Linked DNA regions of Homo sapiens: all the other regions are linked to region 1. Evidence: promoter capture Hi-C in 16 types of primary human blood cells and fetal thymus (Javierre and others, 2016). All regions are on one chromosome and are shown on one strand. The core of a region is centred on a gene start or on the middle of the fragment in contact, and the rest is flanking DNA. Distances in the headings are between cores, read along the strand shown.

Region 1 (2,700 bases), core at 1-2,500:
TACTGGAAATTGAGTGGCTAATGTGGAGAAAACGCAGGCAGAAAAACAGGGGAGACAAAACGAAAGGCTCTCTTGGTTTGAGCCTGTCCAAGCAGCCACGACTCCTTATCAGGTGAACACAGTTCGTCAGTTGGCCACCTAAAGTACAAGTGGGAGAAATTCATCATCACAACATAAATTTTGAGCTTGATATTCTCATATCCGGGAGTCAAACAAACCCAACCACCTGTGCACAATGCTTCCACCTGCAGGAAGGTCATCGCAAACGCTCCAATCTCGTAACAACATTCACACGTTTCCAGCATGTACCTCCGCTTCACACCTCTCTCCCCCCACGTAGTGACCCACCAGGTCTACGTCCTGAAAATACTTCCAGTGGTCATGACTCTTTACAACAACATATCAAATTATTTTCTCTAATTACCTATGAAAAAAGAATGAAACCAACTCCGCGGAGAGCGTGGCACGGCTCTGCGCTCCCCTCCCTGCCTACCCAGCGCCTTCCACGCGGGACACTCCCCGCCGCGCTCCGCTCCAGACCCGCGCGGCCTCGCCGGCTCAGCAGCACTCGCAGCCGGCGATCCGCTGGTGCAGCTCCACGATCCGCCTGCCCATCCGCGCCGCCTCCGCAGCCTTCCTCTCTGCTTCGGCGCACAGCCGAGCCACCCGCTCCTCAGCCTCCGCACGCGGGCGGGGTGCTGGGGCCCGGGCGCCCCGCTCCTCTGCCTCCACCTCACTCTTGATGGCGTCGAGCAGGCTCTGGATCTCCAGCAGCTTCCTGCGGGCCCGCCAGTGCGCCCGGGCGCGCTCGCGCTCCAGGGAGGCCAGGTTCTCGCGGCCGGCGCGGGGCGCGGGGCTCAGCGGGCTGCCCGGCTCCTCGCGGGGCTCCCGCGCCTCGTCCGCGTCCACGGGCCGCATCACGCCGCCGCCTCTTCCAGCCCGCGGGGCACGCCGGGGCTGCTCACCAGCAGCGAGCGCGGAAGCCTCGCTGTCACCAACGACCAGACTAGCAACAGGTTGCCCCAACTTTCCGCAGCGAGGACGGTATCCAAAATGGGCTACTAGCCGTCGGCCAGGACGCTGCCACTGCGGCCCTTTTACGACACCTGCGGTCCTTTACCGCCACGCAGCAAGCGAGAACCGCATTCGGGGCTCCCGCCTCAGCGGTCCTGCGCGCGCACGCGCACTTGCACGCACGCGTACCCCCCCGCACGCATGCGCACCCCATGTCCCCGCCCGCTGTAGCGCCACAGCTCTTTGGGCGTTGATTCTAGGGTCAGGGCCCTCACTCACACTGCTGGAAGGTTAAAGTCGACTTCACGCTAGTTTAAGGAAATATCTGACGCTGATAACCATGTCCCAAGCACTGCTCTAAGTTCCCAATGTGTCCGGAATTGGTGGGTTCTTGGTCTCACTGACTTCAAGAATGAAGCCACGGACCCTCGCGGTGAGTGTTACAGCTCTTAAAGTGGCGCGTCTGGAGTTTGTTCCTTCTGATGTTCGGATGTGTTCGGAGTTTTTTCCTTCTGGTGGGTTCGTGGTCTCGCCGGCTCAGGAGTGAAACTGCAGACCTGTTACGGCTCATAAAGGCAGTGTGGACCCAAAGAGTGAGCAGCAGCAGGATTTATTGCAAAGAGAGAAAGAACAAAGCTTCCACAATAGAAGGGGACCTGAGCCGGTTGCCACTGCTGGCTCCGGCAGCCTGCTTTTATTGTCTTATCTGGCCCCACCCACATCCTGCTGATTGGTAGAGCCGAGTGGTCTGTTTTGACAGGGTGCTGATTGGTGCGTTTACAATCCCTGAGCTAGACACAAAGGTTCTCCAAGGCCCCAGCAGAGTCGATTGGTATATTCACAAACCCTGAGCTAGACACACGGTGCTGATTGGTGTATTTACAATCCCTGAGCTAGACATAAAGGTTCTCCACATCCCCACCAGACTCAGGAGCCCAGCTGGCTTCACCAAGTGGATCCCACACCAGGGCTGCAGGTGGAGCTGCCTGCGAGAACGGCACCGTGCGCCCACACTCCTCAGCCCTTGGGTGGTGATGGGACTGGGCGCCGTGGAGCAGGGGGTGGTGCTCGTCGAGGAGGCTCGGGCAGCACAGGAGCCCATGGAGGGGGTGGGAGGCTCAGGCATGGCGGGCTGCAGGTCCCGAGCCCTGCCCCTCGGAAAGGCAGCTAAGGCCCGGTGAGAAATCGAGCACAGCGCCGGTGGGCTGGCACTGCTGAGGGACCCAGTACACCCTCCGCAGCCGCTGGCCCGGGTGCTAAGCCCCTCATTGCCGGGGGCTGGCAGGGCCAGCCGGCTGCTCCGAGTGCGGGGCCCACCAAGCCCACGCCCACCCTGAACTCCAGCTGGCCCGCAAGCGCCGTGTGCAGCCCCGGTGCCCGCTCGCGCCTCTCCCTCCACACCTCCCTGCAAGCTGAGAGAGCCGGCTCTGGCCTTGGCCAGCCCAGAAAGGGGCCTCCACAGTGCAGCAGTGGGCTGAAGGGCTCCTCAAGTGCTGCCAAAGTGGGAGCCCAGGCAGAGGAGGCACCGAGAGTGAGCGAGGGCTGTGAGGACTGCCAGCACACTGTCACCTCTCACCAACATTCTAAATCATAAACACCCAGGCCGGGCGTGTGGCTCACGCCTATAATCCCAGCACTTTGGGAGGCTGAGGTGAGAGGATCGCTTGAGCTCAGGAGTTCCATACC
Region 2 (2,700 bases), core at 200-2,699, 240 kb before region 1:
AGCCCCTCAGCAGCCCTGTGAGCCAGGTAGTATGCCCATTACCCAGAGGAGGAAACCGAGGCATGCAGCCTGCCCAAGGTCTCCACTGTGGCGGAGCTGGGCTTGAACTCAAGTCTGTGACTCCAAGGCCCCTCAGTAAGCTTTGCTGCTCACAAAGGCATGTCACAGACATAAGCACCTCTGCTCACCTCACCCTGTAAACAGCATGCTGAGTTCTACCGTTTCCAGATGGGAATAACAAAACTGGGCTGAGCAGGTGCAGTGACCCCCAACCCCCTACCCCGGTCGCAGGGGGTTGACCTGAGGCATCTGTCCCCAGCACCCACAGCATTCTCCGCAAGGCCTCTCAGGGTCCCCCATGTTTCCTGGTGAGGATTCTGGGGAGACTAAGAGCCTCCTCATAAAAGCAGCTGCTCTTATGAGCGTCCTGCCCTGGAGGGCAGCACGGTTCAAGAGAAACAGCCCAGTCGAGCCTCTAATGCCAAGGAGAACCCACTGGGCAATGGGGCACCTCCCTGTGAACTGGCCTGCCTGGTAGAGGGCTCCACAAGCACCAACCCCTGCATCTCTTTCTCTTTTTGTTTTGTTTCTGAGACAGAGTCTCACTCTGTCGCCCAGGCTGGAGTGCAGTGGCATGATCTGGGCTCACCACAACCTCCGCCTCCCGGGTTCAAGCGATTCTCCTGCCTCAGCCTCCTGAGTAGCTGGGATTACAGCCGCCCACCACCACGCCCGGCTAATTTTTGTATTTTTAGTAGAGACAGGGTTTCACCCTGTTGGCCAGGCTAGTCTCAAACTCCTGACCTCAAGTGATCGCCTGCCTCAGCCTCCCAAAGTGCTGGGATTACAGATGTGAGCCATTGAGCCCAGCCTCTTTCTCTTTTTTAATTCAAGTCCTGGCTCAGGCAGAAAGGACTGGACGCTCCAGGCTCACGAACATGACCAGCTAGCTGCCTCCGCTCCCCAAGCGCAGATGACACATCAGGCACTGCATTCCATGTCTATATGCACTAGTTCTGTCACCTCCACAACCACCCAAAGAGCTGAAAGAAGACTGCGGTCTAAAGGGTGGTGCGTAGTAACAGAGCTGTGCCGGGCTAGCCTGAGTAGCCGAGGCACTCACTGTTTCCACTGCTACACACACAGCCTAAAACAGTGGATTGATCTGCATTATGTAAAATGGAAAAGGCCATTATAAAAGTAGTTTGGCTTTTAAATGGGTGATTCTTTAGGATAAAAATAGTCCTGAAAAAAATTTCCTAGAAGCTCACATATTCCTCCAGAGGGTGAGTGGCAACTTTCAGACACCTGGAACTTAACACAATGCTGTTTAAGTAAGTTTCAGCCCATGTATGTTTCGGCAAACCAGGCAGAAACTGCGGTTATTGTTCAGGGTCCTCAAAGGCTCCTTCACAACCCGAAGAAGCGGACACTTAACTTATACTGACCACTGGTTATGATTAAAGGCACAGGTGGAACTTTTTTTTTTTTTTTGAGATGGGGTCTCTGTCACCCAGGCTGCAGTACAGATGTATGATCTTGGTTCACTGCAACCTCCACCTCCCAGGCTCAAGTGAGCCTCCCACCTCAGCATCCTGAGTAGCTGGGACCACAGGTGCCCGCCACCACGTCCACCCAGCTAATTTTTTGTTGTTGTTGTTGTTGTTTTGGTAGGGTTTCACCATGTTGCCCAGGCTGGTCTTGAACTCCTGAGCTCAAGTGATCCACCCTCCTCAACCTCCCAAACTGCTGGGATTAGAGGCATGAGCCACAGCGCCTGGCCAGGACATTTTAAATTAAAGACTTTCAATGCAAAATGTTTCAGCTTCACTTAGTGATTTGGTAAATTACTAATTAACTAATTTTCCTAAGTAGCTGTGAAGTGACTGGGAGGCAAATGATACATTAGGAAGATATTTAGACTACTTAAAACCGGTATAGTTTATAATCTTAATTATTCATAAGAGAAATAATTTACTGAGCATTTAGCATGCACCAAGCATGCGGGATGCCATCACATGCTCTAATAATCACAAGCCTGCCAAGGGCACTGAGGAAACTATGAGATTCAGAGAGGCTAAGTCACGCACCCAAGGTCACACAGCAACAGAAACTGAGTTCAAACCAGATCTGACATCAAAGCTCATACATGGCCTGCTGGCGTACTTATGAATGCAGTCCCTAAACTTTATCCCCCTTCCTCTCAGCTCCCTTAATGTTGCCCAAAAGGTATATTCACCCAATAACCCTGATCATCGATAAGCTGAACACTTAACCATTCTTACACTTCTATGTATGTTTGTTAGGCTGCAAATGAAGTTTTAAAAATAAAATAGGCCAGGCGTGGTGGCTCACGCCTGTAATCCCAGCACTTTGGGAGGCCCAGGCAGGTGGATCACCTGAAGTCAGGGGTTCAAAACCAGCCTGGCCAATATAGCAAAACCCTGTCTCCACTAAAAATACAAAATTAGCCAGGCATGGTGGCACATGCCTGTAATCCCAGCTACTGGAGAGGCTGAGGCAGGAGAATCGCTTGAACCTGGGAGACAAAGGTTGCAGTGAGCCGAGATCTCACACCATTGCACTCCAGCCTGGGCAACAAGAGCGAAACGCTGTCTCAAAAAATAGAATAGAATAGAACAGAACAAAACAAAAAACAAAACAAAATCAACAGGAGGGAAAAAATAATGCAGGTTCCAG
Region 3 (2,700 bases), core at 50-2,549, 200 kb before region 1:
ATCCAACGAGCCCAGTAGTTCTCAACCCTGGCTGCATATTCTCATCATCTGGGGGCTTTAGAGAGGCTTAGACTCCTGCCAGAGATTCCAAATGAACTGTCCTGGGCAGGGGCTGGGCACTTTCTGAAAAGCAGATTTGCTCCCAGGCAATTCTAATGCACTGAGAACTGCTGGTCTTCATCCAGAACAGCCTCTTACTCCCCTTACCTCCATGAGAAACATAGCTGGGGCAGAGGCACAGTGCAGAGTAAAAGGAGGAACTTGGCCAGGGTTTTGGACTCTGGCATTGACATTCATGGTGCATTAAGTCCTTTAACACCCTTGAGCATCTACTTCCTCAAAACCAGATCACACCCCCCATCCCCTGCCACAGAGTTGCCACAAGGTAGTTTGACGAGATGACATGCCTGCCCCTTGCACAACACCCCAAAGGACAAGGCTGGAGCAAGTGACTGCTGCGCCCTTCTACCTTGGCACAGAGTAGCGAGGCTGTGCCAAGGGTAAGACCATCTGGGCCCTGCTGGGCTGCTTCCTGCAGCTGCACTGGCCACATGGAAGACTCTCCACAGCTGTTCTCTCTGACGGCTCCAAGAACTCCAAGTTACTAGTTGAGGTTCATGAGAATACCCCAGGCTCTGGGATTAGACAGACTTCAGTCAATTCCAGGTCATGCTATTTACTTGTGATGTAACTTTGCACAAATTATTTAACCTCTTTGAGCCCTAGTATCCTCATCTCTAAGATGAGAACATCACCATTTTCCCTCCTACATTTCTGTGCAAATTCAAAGAGGTGAAGCCTCAAGCACAGTGCCGGGCACACACATTGCACCCATGACCGCTGCTTATCAAAGCCATAGGCTTGGAGGCGTGGTTGCCCTAGGGCGGCTGGGGAGGATGCCATGTGTCCTCTGCTGAGGCTGGGAGGAACCCTGGCTTCATCTCTCCTAAGGAGGCATCTTTTCCTTGGCTGACTTCTCACTCCATGGCCCACTCCATATGGCCACCACTTATACTGGCTGAGGGGCATGGAGTGGATAGGACATGGTTTCCTTGACAAGGATAGCTCAGAGGCAGGCAGGCCCATCTCCACACCCCACTCCTTCATTTTCTCTTCCTGCTTTAGGAATTCTGTACATACAAGAGGGTTTTATTGTGCCACAGGGTATTTGGAAAAGGTGATGCTGAACTGCTGCTGATAGTCTTCATGATGCTCAAGTTGACCACCACCCTGTTTCGGGCTATGACATGCCAGCCACTGTTCTAGGCACTTTACCTTACAATGAGGGCATTCTTCTAGCCTCCTTTTATACATACAGACTACAGAGGCACAGAAAGGCTCAGTCAGCACCCAAAGCCTAATAGCTGGGGAAAGAAGCTCTGGATTCCAATACAGTTCTCAATCCTGGGCCTTTCACCACCTGTCTGTACTGCTTCCCTGCAGGACTCTCTGTCTTTAATGCTAAAATCATCCAGACGCTTACATTACTCGAGTCTTGAAAGCACTGAAAATCCAGGGGCGTGAGCTGTGGAGACTGCTGTTTGGGACGGCACTCCTGGTGCACAGAGTCTACAAGGCCCTCTGTGGTCTGGCTCCCAGCTGCCTGGCTGGCCTCATCCCCACCACACTCCCATGCCATCCCTTCTTTGCCAGTCATGTTGGGGGCATACCCAATGCATTCCTGTCCCTGCACAAGCCACTGCTGCCTGGCACCTCTCCCTGCAGGCAGCCCCAGCTGTCACATGGTCTGTGCCCTATTTCCTCAAGTCCCTGTTGAGAAGGTACCTGAGCAGGGGGAGGACAGGGACACGATCTGTTTGCCTATGCATTCCCAAGTCTAGAACAGTGCCTAACCCAAGTGCTGAAGGGATGCACATATGAATGCGCAGCAAGGCCAGCAGGGGGCAGACTGCACAAAGCTGGGGCTTTCTTATATGGTTACCTGAACAAGCTGCCTCTTTTCTGAGCCTGTTTCCTCGCCTTACTGTAAAGGGGACAATGCTACTCTTCCTTTCCAGAGATGCTGTGAGCTCCCAGGTCAGCCCCTGGCTCAGAGCAGCAACTGCTTGTGATGAATCATATCCAATATTAGAAGCATTAGGAGTCCCCAGCCACTTCTGCTGAGTAGGTAAGTGACTACCTGTTTTCTTGGCTATCCTTCTGAGACTAAATGCCCCAACCCACATAAGCTAAAGAAGGATGCTTCATGATGCTACAGGGCAAATATGCAGGGACTTAACTCACAGTGTGAGCTAAAGGTCATTCAAAAGAAATAATTACCAGTATTTATGCACTGAGAGTTTCTCTATATACCACTTCACTGTAAAAACAAAAATATTATGTACAAACACCAGTATCCACTAAGAGACTGTACAGATAACCAGGAACCTAGAGCTAAGAGGTGAAACTGGATTCTTTACTAACTAATGACAGAAAACTGGACTAAGGGTGCTAAGGTTGCCCTTTACTAAAGAAACATGAACTCTGTGTCTCAAAATCATCCTATGCCACTGCAAGGAATTGGTTCTTTTCCACAAGGTGGCATCCTCCTCTCCCTCCTAGCTCTTCCTGAGAGGTCCTCTGTGGCACAGCTGTGGCCACATCCCACCTTCATTCCATTAACTGTGTCTGTGTCTTGTACTTGCCCAGTTTACCAGACTGGACACACATGAAGGGAAGCTCTGTGTGTCCTACTCCTAC
Region 4 (2,700 bases), core at 104-2,603, 180 kb before region 1:
AATCTTACATACATTTCCACTTGATCCTTTGCTGGAGGGGATAATTCTGCCTCTGGAGAGGGAGACCCCTCTAACTTTTTGTGAATCTTCTCTTCTGTTATGAAACAAAAATTAAGAAAGATTTGTCTTATATCTAGTTAATAAATGCTAATGTATTTCAAAGTTTCTCAACTAATTTTAACAAGAAATAGAGACTTTGGTGCTTAAAAGGCAAACTCAATACCGATCTTTTTAATAAAAATCTATTTTTTCAGTGTGCCAGAGGGAATTCTCCGATTAAACCACATTAGCATTAGGCCAAGAGGTGAGAGTTGTTCATCTCGTCACTGATACAGTGCTCTAGAGGCACTTAATTAAGAGACTGAAGTCCCCTGTGTACTTATTAATTAGACCAGAAGGACAGAACATCTGTTTAGATTCCAAAACTATTTTCTCACAAAATTCTACACTCATAGACTTTACATTGACTCATCTTGACCAAAACTAATCTGTAAAGAATATTCTTTATTACAATTTGCTCTATTACTTAACATGTAGGTGAGCAAGGGCTATTTCAACTGAAACAGGAAAAAGGGCTATCCCTTAGTTTAGCCTAGGATACTGCCTTAGGTTACAAATCAACTGTGCCCTTAAGAGGCAGGCTCAAGGCTTGGTGGGCAGCAAAATGACCATAAAGAGGGCAAGGAAACAAGGATCCTCACCCTTAATATGAAGGTCTCGTTCTTAGGGATTGCAAACAAGTTAGAAAAAGTATGAGGAGGATTCATATATCGAAATAACTAAATAAGCTTGCCAAGTCTGTGTTTTCAAAAAAGCTGAGTCAAAACAGAAGTCCCTTCCAAACCTGAAGTAATTCATGTCTTAACATCTTAATTTAATGTCGTAATTTAGCAGTCTTAACATCAACAGGCAGATATTAACAGAGGGGCAAGGATGGGGAAAGGAAAGAGACAATATTGTTCCTGATCTCTGAGCTTCAACTTGAAGCCAACAACAATTAAAAAAACCCAAAAAACAGAAAACCATGAAGTGTTTCCTATCTCTGAGGGCACCTGTGGACTAAGTCCCTCCCTTGGTTGCAGGAATCTCTATGAGTGACTGCTGGGTCTGACACAGAAGCCACTAACAGAGCTGCAGATGGAGCATGAGGCTGGCCTAGTGACACACACTGGACACAAAGACTTTGTTCTGGTTGTTTTCTTTTCTGATCAATTCTAAGATTTTCCCCAATCCAGATTCCTCAGGGATGTAATCCTGGCATGTGTGCGCACAGTGCTTTTGACCTCACCTTGCTTACTCTGAAGGTCTTTCAGTCTGGAGCAGAGCTCCTCCACTAAAGTCTCGATACCAGAGCTCTGCATGACAACAAAAAGACACATTAGGTTACAGCCAGGTATGTACAAATCAGGTATTTGTATACTTTTGTTTTAATACACAGGTTTTACAAATCATCCACATTCCAAAATAAATATCTTACCAATATTTACGTGAATACTACAGTTTAAAAATTATAGGTTTGTAGATACAAATTGGTATACATGCTTATTACTAATAAGGCATATTAAATGAAACTTAGTGATAAAATGTGAACATATTCATGTACCTCCCAGAATAGCTTCTGTTTTTCCAAAGGTGTGTCATCTTGCTCATGGGGCAGATTTAAGGGCCTAAATGTCCATCATACGACCAAAAGTCAGTCACCATCAAAAAGAGTATTAAATATTTATGTGAGCGAGATCTTATACCAGACTTAAAACAAAGGAAAATCACAAAACCTCATCTTAGTTCTCTAGGAGCTCACACCCTGAAGAAAACAAGGTGATTTTTTTTTTTTCTGTTTTAAAGAAACATGAACACTCATGATTAAAACAACAGAAGTCCAGAAAATGAAGCCAATATTGCAAATGTGAAAGCTTTGTCTTCTTTTCAGCATCTGGACCAGATTATCGACTTCTATACAAAGCTTGGGAGTTTAAAATTTAAGGAGAGTACATAGAAGAGTCTGGATTTGGGAGGGTAAAAATAAGAGTCAACCTTTAAAGAAAAATGAATGTAGAAAACAGGCACAAGCAAATAATCTTTCATTAGTAGACTTTAACTTTTAAGAGTCTCAATTTCTCACAGGAAGAAAAAAAAATTTTTTTACAGTGGACAAAAAAAGTCAATGTATTTCTCAGAAACTTTAGATTTATTCAGTGACCAAAGTCCTATTTAAACTGGAATCAAGTCCTTATTGGTGGGCATAACCCAAACAGATGCGCGTGATGGAGAGTTCTGCTAAGCCAGTGCCCTCACTAGGCCTTGACGGGCTAAAAATAGAACTTTACCCCATTCACTTAACTCAAAATGACTCAGCACAAATATTATAGATATCCTACATAAGAAATCCCACGGTTACACAGTTTGAGTAGCAAGAAACAGATTACAATGAAAACAGTTAATTGTAAACATCTAGAGTTACATTCTGTCCACGTCATACCACAGGTTTTAATAGGAAGATAGAAAAATAGGCCAGACAAGAGTTGCCCTTTCCTTTAAAAACACTCTTAAAAACGATGGCAGATATTAGTCATAAACACTGTTCAACCACAAACAGTTGCACCAGAAAGCACCTGCTTACCATAATGCTCAAGGTGTGACAAGGACGGCAATTATATTCCATTTCCTTCGGATCGTGAAACCAACACCAGTGTCAGCTGA
Region 5 (2,700 bases), core at 15-2,514, 140 kb before region 1:
AAACCTCCTTGTCAGTCACTGCAAGAAGAAATACACAAAAAAACCAGTAAGGATATAGAGAGAACAACATTATTAACCAACTTGACCTAAGATAAACTGTATCTTTGGCCACAGAAAAGGTGCAATAAGCTTAAAAGAATTCAATCATACATGCATGTTCTCTGACCACATGGAATTATAACTGGTAACATCAAGATGTCTGGAAAAGCTTCCAAACATTTGAGAACTAAAAACATATTTCTAAACAATAGGGGAGGCTAGGCACAGTGGCTCACGCCTGTAATCCCAGCACTTTGGGAGGCCGAGGCAGGCGGATCACGAGGTCAGGAGATCGAGACCATCCTGGCTAACACGGTGAAACCCCGTCTACTAAAAATACAAAAAAATTAGCCGGGCATGGTGGCGGACGCTTGTAGTCCCAGCTACTTGGGAGGCTGAGGTGAAAGAATCACTTGAACCTGGGAGGAGGAGGCGGCTGCAGCGAGTCGAGATCATGCCAATTAGGAAGTACTATATTTTGAACTGAATATAAATGAAAACACAACCTATCAATATTTTTAGGATGCCACAAAAGCAGTCCTGAGAAAGAAATGTAGAGCACTGTCTACATTAGAAAAGGTCTTAAATCAATGATCTCAGTTTTCACCTTAAGAAACTAGACAAAGAAGAGCAAACGAAGCCTAAACTAAGCAGAAAAAAGCTCAGAGCAGAAACCAGTGAAATAGAAAGCAGAAAAACAATAAAACCAAAAACAGGTTCTTTAACCTCTAGCCAGACTGATCAGGAAAGAGAGAAGACATAGATTACCAGTATCAGGAATGAGAGAGGTGAGATCACTACAGATTCTATAGGTATAAAAATGAGAATAAGGCATATTAGAAAAACTTTATACCAATAAATTCAATAACTTAAATGAAATGGAAAAATTCCTTGAAAGATACAAACTACCAAAGCCTACTCAAGAAGAAACAGAATGAACAGTCCTATATCTATAAAGGGAATTGAATTTATAGTTTAAAATTCACAAAGAAATTGCTAGGCCCATATAGTTTCAAAGGTGAATTCTACCAAATATTTAAGAAAAGCGTAATTCCAATTCTATACAAACTTTCCCAATACTTCTCAAATCATGTTATGAAGACAGCATTAAACTGATACCAAAAGCCAATAAAGATATTACAAGAAACAGGCTGAGCGAGGTGGCTCACGCCTGTAATCCCAGCACTTTGGGAGGCCGAGGCGGGTGGATCACGAGGTCAGGAGATCGATACCATCCTGGCTAACACGGTGAAACCCTGTCTCTACTAAAATACAAAAAAATTAGCCAGGCGTGGTGGCAGGCGCTTGTAGTCCCAGCTACTCGGAAGGCTGAGGCAGGAGAATGGCGTGAACCCGGGAGGTAGAGCTTGCAGTGAGCCGAGATCACGCCACTGCACTCGAGCCTGGGCAACAGAGCGAGGCTCCGTCTCAAAAAAAAAAAACAAAAAAAAGACATTATAAGAAACAAAGAAGACCAATATGCCTCATGAGTACAGATGCAAAAATTTTACACAAATTTTCAGGTAATTGAATCCAATAATATATACATCAAACCCAGAGGATACAAGGATATCAGAAGAATGCTGTTCTACACAATTGTCTACCACAGAACCTCTAAAATATTCGTTTCACTGTACAACTCAAAGGCCTTAAAAATTGACACCATGAAAGATTGGATTCACTGTAAAGACTGATATATTGTTTTAGTTTTATTATGTTTACTTTAAAATGTGATCTCAAGCCAACCATAAGATTCTTTTTGTTGTCGATAGAGAGTTCACATTTATTTAGCCAAGTGAAAGGATTCAAGGAGGTGAGACAAAATCAGCATACGAAGGCAAAATAAAGCAAAGCATATTGAACGCCCACATGATCTCAAAGCTGGTTAAAACCTTTGCTTGCATTATTATCCTTAAGAGAACCGTTCTTACAACTTGTCCAAAATCTGATTGCATGAAATTTTAAAATAACTGGTTATATCTATAGTCATGAGTGATTAAAATCTACACAGTACAGACTGCAGAGGACCAAGGAAAAGAAAGAAAAAGAAAGTAAAGGCTGACAAGTAGCTTCAGACTACTCTACATTCATCTATGCAGTACTTTTCAGTGGATAGTAATAACTGGGGTTTTTAGACAGAAGCACCAACCACACGATGGCTTCTTCCTGTACCATAATGACAGATCTAAATGTTCTTGGAGCTAAAGAGTATTCATTCTCCTTGCTTTAACTCAAACTGTTAGCAGATGACCCACGTACAGAATACCGGGCACTAAGCTTTCTCTACCTAAGCAGCAAGCCTTTGGTAGAGGGGTAAACATTTGACCAAATTAGAGACTATTTCTAGTTGTGAACTGAAAGGAGACTCCTAGGTATGTTGGTTCACGAATTATCTGTTTAATTAAAACTTACTTCACGTATGATCCACCGTGGTGAAACTTACCTCTAATGGTCACAGCACTGAGGGTCAGTGCTGGTTTTGACAAGCACAGGCAAAAACCCATGTTTATTCACCTGGCATGATGAGGAACACAACTGGCAAACACTCAAATTTCAAACTGTCTATCTGCCTTTACACTCATTCCAAACATGGAATTTAGTCAATACGAAGTTAAATTTTAGTTTAAATTCTATAAAAAAGTTTTAAAGAAAAAGCACCAC
Region 6 (2,700 bases), core at 1-2,500, 160 kb before region 1:
ATTTGGGAGGCAGAGGTGGGCAGATCACTTGAGCCCAGGAGTTTGAGAACAGCCTGGCCAACATTGTGAAACTCTGTCTCCAAGAAAAATACAAAAATTAGCCGGGCATGGTGGTGTCCACCTGCAGTCCCAGCTACTTGGAAGGCTGAGGTGGGAGAATTGCTTGAGCCTGGGAGGCGGAGGCTGCAGTGAGCAGAGATCACGCCACTGTGCTCCAGTTTGGGTGACAGAGTAAGACCCTGTCTCAAAAAAAAAAAAAAAAAGCTATCTTTGTTACCCTCATACTTACTAGTTCGGGTAAGATCTTTTAGAATGGAGATAATTTTTCTCAGAATCTGAAAGGTATTGCTCCATAGACTCTCAAATGCAACACTACAGGTTAGAAATCCTAATTCTACAGAATGGGAGTAAATTTTTGCAATCTATCCATCTGACAAAGGGCTAATATCCAGAATCTACAAAGAACTTAAACAAATTTACAAGAAAAAAACAAACAACCGCCTCTGCCTCTCCCTCTCCCTCTCCCTCCCCCTCCCCCTCTCCCCTTTGCACGGTCTCCCTCTAATGCCCAGCCAAGGCTGGACTGTGCTGCCGCCATCTCGGCTCACTGCAACCTCCCTGCCTGATTCTCCTGCCTCAGCCTGCCCGGTGCCTGGGATTGCTGGCACGCGCCGCCCACGCCTGACTGGTTTTTGTATTTTTTGGTGGAGACGGGGTTTCGCCGTGTTGGCTGTGCTGGTCTCCAGCTTCTGACCGCGAGTGATCTGCCAGCTTCGGCCTCCCGAGGTGCCGGGATTGCAGACGGAGTCTCGCTCACTCAGTGCTCAATGTTGCCCAGGCTGGAATGCAGTGGCGTGATCTCGGCTCGCTACAACCTCCACCTCCCAGCCGCCTGCCTTGGCCTCCCAAAGTGCCGAGACTGCAGCCTCTGCCTGGCCGCCACCCCGTCTAGGAAGTGAGGAGCGTCTCTGCCCAGCCGCCCATCGTCTGGGATGTGAGGAGCCCCTCTGCCCGGCCGCCCAGCCTGGGAAGTGAGGAGCGCCTCTTCCCGGCCGTCATCCCGTCTAGGAAGTGAGGAGCCTCTCTGCCCGGCCGCCCATCGTCTGGGATGTGGGGAGCACCTCTGCCCAGCCGCGACCCCATTTGGGAACTGAGGAGCGTCTCTGCCCCGCCGCCAACCCGTCTGGGAGGTGAGGAGCGTCTGTGACCCGCCGCCCCTTCTGAGAAGTGAGGAGCCCCTCCGCCCGGCAGCCGCCCCGCCTGGGAAGTGAGGAGCCCCTCCGCCCCGCCAGCCGGCCCGTTCGGGAGGTGGGGGGCAGCCCCCGCCCGGCCGCTGCCCCGTCTGGGAGGTGGGGGCCCCTCTGCCCGGCCGCCACCCCGTCTGGGAGGTGTACCCAACAGCTCATGGAGAATGGGCCATGATGACGATGGCGGTTTTGTCGAATAGAAAGGGGGGAAGTGTGGGGAAAAGAAAGGGAGATCAGATTGTTACCGTGTCTGTGTGGAAAGAAATAGACAGGAGACTCCATTTTGTTCTGTACTAAGAAAAATTCTTCTGCCTTGGGATGCTGTTAATCTATAACCTTGCCCCCAACCCCGTGCTCTCTGAAACATGTGCTGTGTCCACTAAGGGTTAAATGGATTAAGGGCGGTGCAAGATGTGCTTTGTTAAACAGAGGCTTGAAGGCAGCATGCTCCTTAAGAGTCATCACCGCTCCCTAATCTCACGTACTCAGGGACACAAACACTGCGGAAGGCGGCAGGGCCCTCTGCCTAGGAAAACCAGAGACCTTTGTTCACATGTTTATCTGCTGACCTTCCCTCCACTATTGTCCTACGACCCTGCCAAATCCCCCTCTCCGAGAAACACCCAAGAATGATCAATAAATACTAAAAAAAAAAAAAAGAAAAGAAAAAAAAAAAAGAAAAAGGACAAACAACCCTTAATACAATTATTAAGCACAATAGAGTGAGAAACAAAGAAATCAGGAAAAAGTGAGAACAATATTTCTACAAGTACAAGAAATGGGGGGAAAGTGTTAGGACTCAAAGCCACCAAACTGTGTATTCTAATTTTCAATATACATATATGATTTGCAAAGCCAAAAAAAAAAAACAAAACAAAAAACAAACAAACAACCCCATCAAAAAGTGGGCAAAGGATATGCATAGACACTTCTCAAAAGAAGACATTTATGCAGCCAACAGACATATGAAAAAATGCTCATCATCACTGGTCATCAGAGAAATGCAAATCAAAACCACAATGAGATACCATCTCACACCAGTTAGAATGGCCATCATCAAAAAGTCAGGAAACAACAGATGCTGGAGAAGATGTGGAGAGATAGGAACGCTTCTACACTATTGGTGGGACTGTAAATTAGTTCAACCATTGTGGAAGACAGTGTGGCGATCCCTCAAGGATCTAGAACTAGAAATACCATTGGACCCAGCATTCCCATTACTGGGTATATACCCAAAGGATTATAAATCATGCTACTATAAAGACACATGCACATGTATGTTTATTGCAGCACTATTCACAATAGCAAAGACATGGAACCAACCCAAATGTCCATCAATAATAGACTGGATAAAGAAAATGTGGCACATATACACCATGGAATACTACGCAGCCATAAAAAAGGATGAGTTCATGTCCTTTGCAGGGACACAGATGAAGATGAAAACCATTAT

What was found. Contacts are between HindIII fragments. The CHiCAGO score rates a contact against its expected background, and 5 or more counts as called.
Region 2: a fragment that was not itself captured here is called in contact with the fragment with the promoter of LINC02482 in region 1 in 11 of 17 cell types (non-activated CD4 T cells, fetal thymus, naive CD8 T cells and 8 more); the score reaches 16.8 in non-activated CD4 T cells.
Region 3: a fragment that was not itself captured here is called in contact with the fragment with the promoter of LINC02482 in region 1 in 16 of 17 cell types (naive CD4 T cells, total CD8 T cells, fetal thymus and 13 more); the score reaches 70.4 in naive CD4 T cells.
Region 4: a fragment that was not itself captured here is called in contact with the fragment with the promoter of LINC02482 in region 1 in 11 of 17 cell types (total CD8 T cells, naive CD4 T cells, total CD4 T cells and 8 more); the score reaches 19.0 in total CD8 T cells.
Region 5: a fragment that was not itself captured here is called in contact with the fragment with the promoter of LINC02482 in region 1 in 2 of 17 cell types (total CD8 T cells and naive CD4 T cells); the score reaches 7.0 in total CD8 T cells.
Region 6: a fragment that was not itself captured here is called in contact with the fragment with the promoter of LINC02482 in region 1 in 5 of 17 cell types (naive CD4 T cells, naive CD8 T cells, neutrophils and 2 more); the score reaches 7.6 in naive CD4 T cells.

What each region holds. Positions count from the first base shown.
Region 1 is chr4:6,672,431-6,675,130 of GRCh38, reverse strand. LINC02482 (long intergenic non-protein coding RNA 2482) reads left to right here and starts at 1,250. Exons shown (of 2, transcript NR_134665.1): 1 at 1,250-1,447. MRFAP1L2 (Morf4 family associated protein 1 like 2) reads right to left here and starts at 1,056. Exons shown (of 1, transcript NM_138699.3): 1 at 1-1,056. The coding sequence starts at 918. The coding sequence ends at 559. RefSeq lists a silencer at 752-981 and an enhancer at 1,454-2,062. The HindIII fragment of the contact is 2,330 bases long and covers 1-1,652 here.
Region 2 is chr4:6,912,930-6,915,629 of GRCh38, reverse strand. The region is part of intron 1 of TBC1D14 (TBC1 domain family member 14); the gene reads right to left. Among named protein-coding and RNA genes, the nearest start is that of TBC1D14, 4.5 kb to the right of the region's middle. The HindIII fragment of the contact is 2,613 bases long and covers 143-2,700 here.
Region 3 is chr4:6,873,345-6,876,044 of GRCh38, reverse strand. The region is part of intron 8 of KIAA0232; the gene reads right to left. Among named protein-coding and RNA genes, the nearest start is that of TBC1D14, 35 kb to the left of the region's middle. RefSeq lists a silencer at 1,827-1,986. The HindIII fragment of the contact is 3,243 bases long and covers 1-2,700 here.
Region 4 is chr4:6,855,819-6,858,518 of GRCh38, reverse strand. KIAA0232 reads right to left here. Exons shown (of 10, transcript NM_014743.3): 5 at 1,289-1,355; 6 at 13-94. Among named protein-coding and RNA genes, the nearest start is that of TBC1D14, 53 kb to the left of the region's middle. The HindIII fragment of the contact is 1,125 bases long and covers 791-1,915 here.
Region 5 is chr4:6,815,070-6,817,769 of GRCh38, reverse strand. The region is part of intron 2 of KIAA0232; the gene reads right to left. Among named protein-coding and RNA genes, the nearest start is that of KIAA0232, 34 kb to the right of the region's middle. The HindIII fragment of the contact is 2,108 bases long and covers 211-2,318 here.
Region 6 is chr4:6,835,753-6,838,452 of GRCh38, reverse strand. The region is part of intron 3 of KIAA0232; the gene reads right to left. Among named protein-coding and RNA genes, the nearest start is that of KIAA0232, 54 kb to the right of the region's middle. The HindIII fragment of the contact is 3,921 bases long and covers 1-2,700 here.